Regions from separate parts of the Homo sapiens genome. Here regions 2 and 3 are each linked to region 1. The links are contacts of gene promoters, found by promoter capture Hi-C in blood cells and fetal thymus (Javierre and others, 2016). All regions are on one chromosome and are shown on one strand. Each heading gives the region's core, a stretch centred on a gene start or on the middle of the fragment in contact. The rest is flanking DNA. Distances are from core to core; before and after follow the strand shown. Region 1 holds the start of ESM1 (endothelial cell specific molecule 1). Region 2 overlaps CDC20B (cell division cycle 20B). Region 3 overlaps CDC20B (cell division cycle 20B).

What was found. Contacts are between HindIII fragments. The CHiCAGO score rates a contact against its expected background, and 5 or more counts as called.
Region 2: a contact is called between a fragment that was not itself captured here and the fragment with the promoter of ESM1 in region 1, in 2 of 17 cell types (activated CD4 T cells and non-activated CD4 T cells). The highest score is 5.6, in activated CD4 T cells.
Region 3: a fragment that was not itself captured here is called in contact with the fragment with the promoter of ESM1 in region 1 in 2 of 17 cell types (endothelial precursors and activated CD4 T cells); the score reaches 6.0 in endothelial precursors.

The regions. Positions count from the first base shown.
Region 1 is chr5:54,984,134-54,988,350 of GRCh38, reverse strand. It overlaps ESM1 (endothelial cell specific molecule 1), which reads left to right and starts at 2,758. Exons shown (of 3, transcript NM_007036.5): 1 at 2,758-3,134. The coding sequence starts at 2,834. The HindIII fragment of the contact is 1,737 bases long and covers 2,342-4,078 here.
Region 2 is chr5:55,118,109-55,122,438 of GRCh38, reverse strand. It overlaps CDC20B (cell division cycle 20B), which reads left to right. Exons shown (of 12, transcript NM_001170402.1): 10 at 1,889-2,014; 11 at 2,521-2,638. Among named protein-coding and RNA genes, the nearest start is that of GZMA, 18 kb to the right of the region's middle. The HindIII fragment of the contact is 7,419 bases long and covers 1-4,330 here.
Region 3 is chr5:55,135,911-55,139,809 of GRCh38, reverse strand. The region is part of intron 5 of CDC20B (cell division cycle 20B); the gene reads left to right. Among named protein-coding and RNA genes, the nearest start is that of GPX8, 22 kb to the left of the region's middle. The HindIII fragment of the contact is 3,425 bases long and covers 736-3,899 here.

The DNA.
Region 1 (4,217 bases), core at 1,509-4,008:
GGGTGGACCTCATGCACTCACTATCAACAGCTCTGCCATCATCTTATTGCTTTTTAATGCAGCTTAGAGTTGGCTCCTTGGTTGCTCGTGCTCCCATTTCCTAACCCTTTGTGGTCATTGCTAACTTTCCTAATGGAATTCATTGATCTGGGCTCAAGGCTCTGGGGAAGACAGAAATCACTAGATAAAAATCTTACAGGGATTGTGTTGGGACAAATGGTTTTTGTTGGGTCTTGGAGGGATTGAAGGTTCCCCTAAAATGAGTTGTTAGGCACTGTGTATTGAGATAGTTCCACCACTGGTGAACTCTATTGGGCATATTTTCTGCACTTACCTGTGCATTGTAGTTTGGTTTACTATTTGGATTTGGTACTCTCAACTTACATTTGTTTAGTTGTCATTTACTGAAGGTATTATCAATTTGGTTTCCCTTTATCTTCCATAGTGGAAGAGTTTCATGTCTTTATGTGCTATTCAGGAGGACGAAATCCACTCCATTCCTTCTGTATTACATCTAGTATAGCTTACCATGTCACCCACCTTGGGCACCTGTTTGGCACCTGTATGTATTTGATTTTACAATCCTTAATCCAGTCTCCAGAGCTTGTTGGTCTCAGGGCTGGAGTCCTGGCTTCACCATTTGCTAACTGTGTGATGATGGACAAGTTACTTACCCTCTCTAGGCCTCAGTTTTCTCATATCTAAGATGGGGATAAGAATAGCACCTAGCTCTTGAGGTTGTTTTGAAAGTTAAATGTGGTAATCTACATAAACTGCTTAGCATGGCATCTGGCACACAGTCAGATCTCTGTAAAGGTTAGATATTATTATTAACCACTATTCCAGTTAACTACTCCTCAGAAAGTGGTGTTCAGTAACAAGGGACATTTTCTAGGGTCAGCCTAAATTGCGACCTAGGCCATTGGAACTATTGGCCATGAAAGCACAATTATGTATTGTAATAGGCAATAGAATATGTGGCTCTGACATTAGACTAACATCCATCCCTTCAATATAGGGACCTTAGGCAAATTAACCTCTTTCTTACTCAGTTTCTTCTTTTAAAAAATAAGCATGATAATAGCAGCCACTTCATAATATTGTGATGAGGTGCAAATGAGTTAATGCATGTAAAGTGTTTAAGCTATTAACTCAACAAATATTACCCATTACTGAAAACATCAGAGTGTGCCACCTGCTAAGTAAGTGCTTCTGGGGAGATAGAGTATTTCAAATTGGATTGTCATGAAAAATTTGGAAAATTTGAAAGCTAAAACTCTTGCTTTCATTTCCTACTGCCTCAATTCTCTGTATTCTGAATTTACTCCCTGTGTCCCCCTAAAATTGCATTTGCAAAAGCCGATCTTCAAGTTACATCCAATGCCCGCTCTGCCTCATCTTCTATGGGAAACAAGAATTTTAGAGGTCAGGTAGCCTAACACCATCAATTCTCAAAAGAGGAAGCTGAGGCCAAGAGAAGTCCTGTGAATTTCTTACAGCTCATTTGTGACAGACCAAGAATTACCCACTTTACTGGGTTGTTATTTACTAAGTGACAGTGAGTCTATATCTCTTTTGACAAGTGAGGTGGGGGCATGGAATTCGGCATGTGGTTGGTGTAAGAACTCCCCTCTCTCCTCTTTAACCTTACTTAATAAGACCCTGGCACAGTTGATATTTTAAGAGGGCTACTCTGTTTTCCCAGAGGGACCTAGGCACGGTAACCCTCTTAGCATGCAGACCTTGTTTCCTGAGGGGTAATGTTTCCCTTCCCTGTGACTTGTTTCTTGGGGGCTGTGTTCTGATTTTCCTGCTGAGCCACTTGTTGCCTTGGGCTGGCTGCCGCGCTTGGCAGTTTTTAGTGAGGGCTCTGATAGATGCCAGGAGGTGAGGGGAAGGGCTCTGGGTGGACTCCGTCATTGGACAAGCAGACTTAGTGATGGATGAGCCTTCCCCTGAGGAAGTTTTGGATCAGAAGTCCAACTGATAAGTTTTTCCAGAATTGAGTAACCCAGAAGCAGTGCCGAAAGGATCTTACCTCTCTTGTGGCTTTTTGTATTGATTTTAAAAGAAATTCTCAGAGGCAGTTCCACATTGTACTGGAAGCACAGCTATATCCACAATAGGCTTAGATATATGTAACATGAATTGCTTTAGAAATAACATTTGAGGAGAGGGGTGAGAGGAAGGAAGAGAGGGTCTTAAAAAATAGCCCTATCAAAATATTTTCTTTCTTCTAAGTATTGAAAAGACACAATATAACCCTTTCTTCTTTCAAATGATCTCATAGCTATTTGTTGAGGGGAAATACCAAATGTTTATTATTTTTTTTGAAGAAGCTTCTTCGGTCCTGATGATTCATGTTGATATCATTTTCCTCCTGACTACAGAGGCTCTGAGACAAAGCTACACCTCAAGTGATATGCCAGGGTCAGAACAATTCCCGTCCTGAAGGAGGGTGTGCAACCTTCTTTATCCCTCCTTCACAGACGTCCTTGAGCCCTTGAGACGGATGTGAGTGAGTTTTTCAGTCCTCATGCAAAACAACCATCTAAACATAACAGATGACATCAGCTTGGGCTTTTCAATTCCTGGATGGCAGCAGCGTGTTAATCCAGCCTTCATCCTGGATTTCATAAACCAAAACAAGAGAGCCTGGCAGGAGGACAGCGCTGCTGCTGGGTTGAGGAAATTGATGACGGGAAAGCATGCGGGCAACCCAGTGTATAAAACTCATAAACGTGTAGGCAGAGGCTCAGCTACCAGTTTGGACGGCTGCTTCCCACCAGCAAAGACCACGACTGGAGAGCCGAGCCGGAGGCAGCTGGGAAACATGAAGAGCGTCTTGCTGCTGACCACGCTCCTCGTGCCTGCACACCTGGTGGCCGCCTGGAGCAATAATTATGCGGTGGACTGCCCTCAACACTGTGACAGCAGTGAGTGCAAAAGCAGCCCGCGCTGCAAGAGGACAGTGCTCGACGACTGTGGCTGCTGCCGAGTGTGCGCTGCAGGGCGGGGAGAAACTTGCTACCGCACAGTCTCAGGCATGGATGGCATGAAGTGTGGCCCGGGGCTGAGGTGTCAGCCTTCTAATGGGGAGGATCCTTTTGGTGAAGAGTTTGGTATCTGCAAAGGTAAAGAGTGACCCCTTACCTCTCCCCTCCCGGGGCATGCTGAGAGCTTTTAGCCAGCTTGGGAGGTGAGGTGGCTTTGCTCCTCAAGAGTAAGAGGGAAAAGGCAGGTGGATTCTTGACAAGGCACCACACAGGTATTGTCATGGGTAGAGACTGAAGGATAGCTCCAAGTAGCAACTGAAACCAGTGTGCAGGAAGGCACAGAAAGAAGTGTGGCATTTTACTCGTTGCCTTAGGAGATCGCAAAAAGAAAGCTGCAATGGAAGATTGTGTTGGCTCCTTTTCTGGAAAACTTTAGAAACTTGACAGGTAATCTGTTAAGGATGGCTTAGGTGCTCTCTCCTCTGCGAGGCAGCGATTACAAAGGTCTGCACTAGATAACCTCTTGGAATGGTTTCTAGCCCCCAGATTTAGTGATTCTTTGATCTTGAAAGGGTCCACAGGATGGAGGGCCACTCTCAAGATCAAATATTTCTGATAAACACAAATGCACTTTATGGAATAGAGTGAGCTTAAGTCATCTAACAAAATAACTCACTCTTCAAAGAGGGTCCCCTGAAGCATAAAACAAACCTCATCTGACTTTATAAAGGTTTTGGTCATCTGGAAAAATAGCAGATGGTGTTAAGACAAGGAAAAATAACAATAGAGAAAAATAAAAACTGGAAGTCTGTAAAGAATGAGGTTGACCACTTGTACACTTAAAGAAAAACTTCGTCGGTTGAAATTTTAGCTAAATAATGTAGTTAAGCATTTGTAGAATTTATTTTAAACATAGTAACTAGTTTAAAATATTTAACATTTTAAAAATGTTTAGAATAAAAAGAATGATGATTTAAAAATACTCTACGTATAGATATCTCATGATCTTATTATGAAGAGCTATTATTAAGAAGCAACACATGCTATAACCCCATCCATCAGTTGTGTAATACCAGGAAGCTTTCAAAATTATAAAAAGGACTGAGAAATTTCTAAATAATTATTATGTTTTATGTATTTAATACATTTTTTATGAATAATATTTATCCAGTATTGTGCTAATCTCATTAATTCTCCTACTTCTTAGACATATAATGTATA
Region 2 (4,330 bases), core at 319-2,818, 140 kb before region 1:
GAGGCCAGGTGCAGTGGCTCATGCCTGTAATCCCAGCACTTTGGGAGGCTGAGGTAGGTGGATCGCTTGAGCCCCAGGGAGATTGAGGCTTCATTGACCCTTTGTGGTAGCACTGCACTCCATCCTCGGCAACAGAGTGAGACTGTGTCTTAAAAAAAAAAAAAAGAGAAAAGACTTCCAAATTGTTTAATTTAGTTCATAGAAGTAACAGTCATCTTTAGTCCAAATAAAGTAGGTGATTTAATTAAACATTTACATGTAATTTGATGAAATCACAGTTATAATAACAAGTTCACCTGTCATAAACAGGTTTGGCAAAACACAGTGGGCTCTATAAACCCACAGCTTAATTAGTGGGAGTAGAAGTGTGGAGCATTCTAGAGAACAGAAGACTAGCATGCTATGGGTAGGAGTAAGTATGTTTTACAGAAGGAGTGGAGAACTTTGGTAAATTTAGCAAGTTGGTTAAATGAAGAATGAGAGCAACTATTGTATATTCAGATGTATGTTTTTAAAAAATGGACTCAAACTTGTAAGAAAAGCGTTAAGATGTAGGTGCTTAGATGGCAAAAAATCCACATGGTGGGAAGTGCTAGAGGAACATAAATACACAGAAAAAAGTTCATTCTTGCTAAGAAGAAAATAAATTACCCTTATAATCTGTTTTGTAATGATTTTAATTTCACTAGATGTAAAATAACATTTTTAACTTCATGTAACCTTTAGCCAGGGTGAAATTAGTATACTCATTGGATGCTGGTGCTGTAAAAAGTTATAACTGCTTGGAAAACTTTATGTCAACTCTTTTGAACCTTGGAATTTACTTAAAAAATTTGTCAGAAAAAAAGACATGTAGAATGTATTCATTACAATGTACTTTATGAGAGCAAACAGCAAATAAAACACACGCACAAAAACAAAAAAAATACTCCTTTCCAAAAAAAATTAACCCAACCCAATACAAATCAAACCACAATACAACAAAAAACCAAAACAGGTCCAGCATTAGCAGAACAAAAATTAATCAGGATATAACGACACGATGGAATATTATGGGATTGTTAAAAATTATAATTGTGAAAAGTCTATTAAAACGTGGAAAACTGTTTATACAATAGGTGAAAACAACAGAAAATAATCAAATAGTATAAACACGATGTTTGCTACTTTATAAAATATTTTTATGTGTAGAAGAGAGGATGCAAAAATGAGGGTAGTTACCAAGATGATTGATAAGGATACACAGATACATATAACTGTAGTATTTGTTAAAATGTCCTTTAAAGTGATTATTATTAGTAATTTCAATTATCAATATAAATGTGTGATACTAAATCCTATTTTTTAGAATTAACTATAATTATAAATAAATAGAAGGCAATTTTATTTTCTGAACTGCTTTAAGATTTGAAGTGCTTGAGACTGTTGAGTTGTGAGCAATCACATATAGTTCTCTTTTCTCTTATCTGACCACTACCTGGAACATAAGGACACAGGTAGACAAATCAGAGAAAGCCTGCATTTTCAGAGCCAATTTGCAAGGGCACATGTGAACTATCCCAGCAGCAGATTTTTGCCCCATAGGATGTATTGCATGTAGTTTTTCAACTGTTATTGCATAGTCTATGTTAAAAAATCCACAATTGTTATCATCATTTGATAACAATTTGATTTGAGTCGTATTAGGTACCTTCCCTTCCAGAAGTGACTGCTAGTCCCTGAGGAATAATCTCTGGAGGGTGCAGTTGCTCCTGCCTTTAGATAGCAGGCCCAGGAGAGCTGTGACAGGTGCAGACGTGGGGACTTGCTGCTTACCTAAGTGCATCACATTCATGAGTGCACCTCCTTTGAAGCTGACCTGTCTGTGCTATTATGTGAAACTTTAAAGGCCATGGATTGGTGTCCCTGGCAGTCTGGGGTCCTTGCCATTGGAGGAGGAATGAAGGATGGACGCTTACACATCTTGGATATAAATGCTGGGAAGAGCATCCAGACCCCAAGCACAAACTCACAGGTTAATATCTCCTCTGGGCTTCATCTTCATTTTGATCTTCTGGAATCTTGTGAAAATAGTTTACAACAGAGCCTATGCCCCCAACAAGCTCTCTTTCTCTATTGAGTCCATAAGGAATTTGAGTTCTCAAGAGTTTCTTTTTATTGTAAAAACCTCTTCATTTGTGAGTTCAAAGTTAATATAATTTGTGTTTTCTTTTTTTCACATTTCCTTTCTTTCCCCATCACTGCTTTGACCATGAACTTTGAGAGTAATCTGGCTCTTCCTGGCCAATGATCACAGTTCACTTAAATTCTTCAATTTATTGCACCTAAGCCTATTTGTATACTTGATCCTTTGTTGCCTTGGGATAAACTTTCCTAGAATGGTTGTAATTTCTTTAACATCCTACCCCAGCTGTACTGGAGGTTGGGTCATGGACAGTGCATACTGCCTGTAACCAGTTTAACTATATTCATAAGGAATCAGAAATTGCAAGAATTCTCTATTTTTGATCATTATTACAGATTTGTTCCTTAATCTGGCTACCTAAGACAAAGGAGATTGCAACTGGTCAAGGTACTCCCAAGAATGATGTGACTGTGTGGACCTGTCCCACTGTGTCCAGGTCAGGTGGGTTTTTTGGTAAGCAAATGGGTGAGTAAAATGCCATGCACCTATAGCAAAGTGAGCTGTTGTTGGGGGGAAAAGCCCTGAATGAAAGATTTTATCCTTCTGGTTTTTCTAAGTACACATTTCATCAGAGGAAAAAGTCCTACATCCACCCTACCTCAGAGAGCGTATAGTTGAATGTTTCTGAATTTGCCTAAGATTGTTCATCACTTTAAATTAAGTCATCTCCTCCTTGCATATGTATATGAATGATGGAGTGGTGATCTTGGGCAGTTTTTGAACTCGAGTTAGCATCACAAATCATCTTATTTTGAAGAAAAACCAGCGGTGTAGAATGGGTGGAAGATAAAGCGATCTGAAAGGGCAAGACATTATGTGTCAGGAGGCCACTAATGACCATGAGCTTCCTCTGTGAACATCTGCCCTTTCAAGGTAGACCACTACTCTTCTCAGCTTCGTTCTACAAACTTTTACTGGGTACTTCTTGAGAGAAAGACCCCATGATGGGGAGCAAGACCCAGGCCCTGTCCTCTGGGCCTTAAATCCTCTTTTGTGCATCTAGAATGTTAAAGGGGGCTCAAGGGTGAGTAGAGTATCTCCTCTACCCAGCCCAGGGAAACAGGAAGACAAAACTGGTGGTCGATGCAAGAACAGGGCACCGGCATCCAATCTCTTGTAGAACTCTGATTATATATCCCGTCTTTTTCCTCTGTTCACTCACCTGGCCTCCTGGCCAATCCCTGAGGTTTACTTATTGATTATTTATTTATGAAGCATCTATTATGTGGGAGGTACTTTTTGGGGTGCTGGGGATACACAGGTGAACAAGAGAGACAATGTTCTTGCCCTCAGGGAGCCTACACTTTTGTGAGAGGAGACATGCAGAAAACAAATATATGCAATGTTAGGTAGTGATAATACCATGACTCTCTTTGGAGATTCTGAGAATATTAGTGGGCAACAATGAAACAGCCTTATCAGATAGACTTCCTGCCTCTGATGATGAGCCCGACTGGACCTCAGCCTCAGAATGACCTTTGTATTCTTCAGCTGTCACACTCTGTGGCCTGGATCAGAATACAGGGAACTCTTAGCAGAGCCATTTTGGTGATCAGGTGCAAGTGTAGGAAGAGCATGAGTCAATCCTCATATTTTTAATCAAAAGACATGCAATTCCCTGGACCTTTTCAGATTAGAGAAGTATTGTAAATCAAGCCTTAAAACCTGGTTGTTTACAAAACTAATTCCAGCAGCTAGGTATGGCCTTCAGCTAGGTGGGGGCATGTGATAGGATATTCAAATCAATTTGCTGATGCTTAGAATAAAGAATGTACTTACCAGGTGTATTTCCTTGTTTCTCTGGTCCTCACAAGCTATAAGTACTTTAGTTTTAACTCCTTGCGAGTTTTTTCATTAATATTAGAATTTCCAAGAGTGCATTTAACCTTTTCTCTTAAAATGCTTATAGTTGGAGATGAGGTTACTTTTGAGCTCTTAGACACTCATTTTTATCTCTAACCCATTAGTTTCTTCTACATACAGTATTTCTCAAAAGTGTTTAGCAGTTATACAAAACATACATACAAAGTTGTTAATACAAAAACATACCATGTGGTCAGTAAGTTTGGAAATTTGGGGTTAAGCTAGAACAGTTTTTTCTTCTTCTTTTCTTTTTCTTTTTATTTATTTTTTTTGAGACAGAGT
Region 3 (3,899 bases), core at 1,199-3,698, 150 kb before region 1:
CAAGTGACCCTCCTGCCTCAGCCTCCCAAAGTGCTGGGATTACAGGCATAGTAGATAAGAATTTAGTTCTCTTCCTGCCTCATTCAGTTTCATCAGTTTCTCGACATGCTTATATCACACTTTAAAAAAGTAAAATTAGTAGTTAATGTTTACATCATATTACTACACAACTATTATTCACTATCAAGCCAAATAATATAATTATGCTTCTTTTCTAGTATAATTGTTTAGCTGAGTATTAAAAGTTGCCTTAGTTTTCATTTACTAGATAACTATGACACCATTAATATTTCCTCTAAATGCTCCAATGTTTTATTCCGTAGCTGTCAATAACATTTTCCATGCACTCACTCACTCCAGTTTCTTCTTTTCCTTGATGTCCTCCCTTTCAGAGCCTGCTGAACAGGCTGCTTTCTTGGCCAGTTGCACAGTTGTCTTCTGGGACTTTTCATCAATATTATATCCACTATTTTTGGGCAGCTATGTTGTGCTCTTTCTGGGTTTGCTGGTCTGAAGATGTCCTTATTTTTCTTTTATGCTTGATTCATAGTTTGGCTGGCTATAAATTCTAGTCTCACTCAGAATTTTGACAATATTGCTTTATGGTTTTCTAGTATCCACTGTTGCTGTTGAGAAGTCATGTGTTAATTTGACTTCAACTTTGCTTTTTCTCTCTTGATGCTCTTAGAAAAGTCTTTTATCACCAGTGTTCTAAGATTTCATGATGATAAAGCTTGGCATTAAAAAAAAAAACTCATTGTAAATCAAAAGCCCATTGGTGGATATTTTCATTCTTGGAGATCCATATCCTATAGTTCTTGGAAAGTTGCTTGAATTATTTTTTAATATTTTTTTTATTGTCATTTATTTTTTCCTTCTTTATGAAATATCCTGGATTGACTCTCCAATTCTCTTATCTTTTATCTTCTATTTTTCATCTCACTTTTTTATTTTTAAACCTTTTGGGTGATTTCCTCAACTCTGTTCACCAACCTCGCTATGAAACTTTTTATTTTGGCTATCCTACTTTTAATTTTTTAAAAGCAATTTCTGTACTCTGTTCCTTTTTTTTTTTTTACAGCATCCTGTTCATGCTTCATGGATATACTATCTTCTCCTATATCTCTGACAATATTATTTTATAGATTTTTAGAAGTACTTCTGTGCTCTCTGTGTTGTTTTCCTTTGCTTTGGTTTTCTCTCCCTCCAACCCCCCATTTACTTTGGCTTCTCTCAGAGTGAAAACTTTCCTGAAAGGTGTGCTGTTTTAAAAATAGTACTAGGGTAAAGAGCTTAGTTCTCCTTTCGTAGGTTAAAGAGTACCAGGGTAAATTCAGTATAAAGATATTAGTATAGGCGCGGTGGGTCAAGCCTGCAATCTTAGCATTTTGGGAGGCCGAGGCAGTGGATCACTTGAAACCAGGAGTTCGAGACCAGCCTGGCCAACATGGTGAGACCCCATCTCTAGTAAAAACACAAAAATTAGCTGAACATAGTGGCTCACGCCTGTAATCCCAGCTACTTGGGAGATTGAGGCAGGAGAATCACTTGAACCTGGGAGGCGGAGGTTGTAGTGAGCCGAAATCACGCCACTGCACTCCAGCCTGGGCGACAGAGTGAGCTCTGTCTTTTTTTTTTTTTTTTAACTCAAAATCTATTTTTTTGTTTCATACATCTCCATGGTGCCTGGCGCTATTGAATTAAAAAATTGTCATTTTTATTTATCCAGAGAATAAACATCTGGTTTCTTCTGGTATATCCATATATGTGTGTCTGTATTTACTTGGTTGGGCAGGGTGTGTGTGTATGTGTGGGAACTTGACAGTCTTTTAACTAACCCACCTCTCAGTCTTCTCTGTGCCTCGGAGCCCTTGTGGGATTTTGCAAGGCAAATCAGCTTGTTTCTCTTCACTGTCTCCCTTTGCAGGCACTTGAGGGGTAGTTTCTTATGCTCTTCTTGGTCAGTTATTAATCCTTTATCCACTGTCTAGAAAATTATTGGGCTCTCTTGCCCACTGCTATATTCACTCCCATAGTGTTTGTTCTTGTGTCTTCACCCCTTAAAAAAGTCATTTGCTGTACTTAGGTTGAAAATAGGAGGCAGAGGAAATAAACTTACATGGCCATTCCTCCAACTTGACTTGACTTACCTATGTCTCTCCCCTTCCCATAGATCACTTTAGTGGCAGCATGAAGAAACGATTTGAACAGGAGGATGTTGGTGGCAAAGACTAATTGAGAGGCCCTCTGAATACTCTATGCAAGGCTCTGTTGTTGATTCTTTTAAGGGAACTTAAACTATGAAACAGATCCCACATAAGCCAAGTAATTGCTCATCAGTGGATCACGGGGACAAATGTTATCCAAATGCTGTGTATATAAAGCAATTCTTTATGCCTTGTCCATATCTAATGACTCTGAAACCTTACAGCAGGCAGCCCCTGTAAACTTTCAGGTGTACCTCTTTGCCGAAAGCTGGTAGGAAACTTTGGATGGTGGTGTTGTGAGCGTTATCAGGGAAGCTCTGTAGCCATGCAGTGGGGAGATAATTGCCTGTGGCAATTTCTAGAAGGTCCTGTTCCATGCTACATTTGGAGCTCTCAGTGCTTTCTTTCTTTTTTTTTTTTTTTTTTGAGACAGAGTCTCGCTCTGTTGCCCAAGCTGGAGTGCAGTGGCGCGATCTCAGTTCACTGCAACCTCTGTCTCCCGGGTTCAAGCGATTCTCCTGTCTCAGCTTGGGATTACAGGCACACACCACCATGCCCAGCTAATTTTTGTATTTTTAGTAGAGAAGGGGTTTCACCATGTTGGCCAGACTGGTCTCCAACTCCTGACCTCAGATGCTCCACCCGCCTCAGCCTTCCAAAATACTGAGATTATAGGCATGAGCCACTGTGCTTGGCCTCCCAAAGTCTTTTGACCCTGAGCCCCATGTGTTTTCATTCCTACTTTCTGTTGCCATCATGGACGTTTTTGTGTTATTCATGAGATTATTGTCATGGCTGGAAAATAATTGTTTGGGAGCCAGAATTCTGTGTGAGAATCCTCTTGAGAGAACTAGCGTGGTTCATTTCATAAATGCCAAGGAAACTTGCCTGCTACATTTCCCCTCTGGAATAAGTTCTGGTAAGCATATCCATGGGGTGCTTTGGCAAGGTCTCAAAAATAAATGTGAACAAGGAGACAGAAATCCTCAATGCTAAAGTAGACTTCTATTTTTATGGCTTGTCCTATTTTTTTTTTTTTTTTTTGAGATGAAGTCTTGCTCTATCGTCCAGGCTGGAGTGCAGTAGTGTGATCTTGGCTCATGGCAACCTCCACCTCCCGGGTTGAAGCAATTCTCCTGCCTCAGCTTCCTGAATAGTGGGGATTACAGGCCTGTGGTACCACACCTGGCCAATTTTTGTACTTTTAGTAGAGGCAGGGTTTCACCATGTTGCCCAGGCTGGTCTTGAACTCTGGCCACAAATGATCTGCCCACCTTGGCCTCCCAAAGTGCTGGGATTACAGGTGTGAACCACTGCACCTGCCGTGTCCCAATTTTTTATTAAAAATATTTTTTGGGGCTGGGCACAGTGGTTCACGCCTATAATCCCAGCACTTTGGGAGGCCGAGGCAGGTGGATCACGAGGTCAGGAGTTCGAGACCAGCCTGGCCAACATAGTGAAACCCTGTCTCTACTAAAAATACACACAAAAATTAGCCAGGCGTGGTGGCGGGTGCCTGTAGTCCCAGCTACTCGGGAGGCTGAGGCAGGAGAATTGCTTGAACCAGGGAGGCGGAAGTTGCAGTGAGCTGAGACCGTGCCACTGCTCTCTAGCTTGGCTGACAGAGTGAGACTCTGTCTCAAAAAAAAAAATATTTTTTTTGGAAATTTTCTTTTAAAAATTATGTAGATA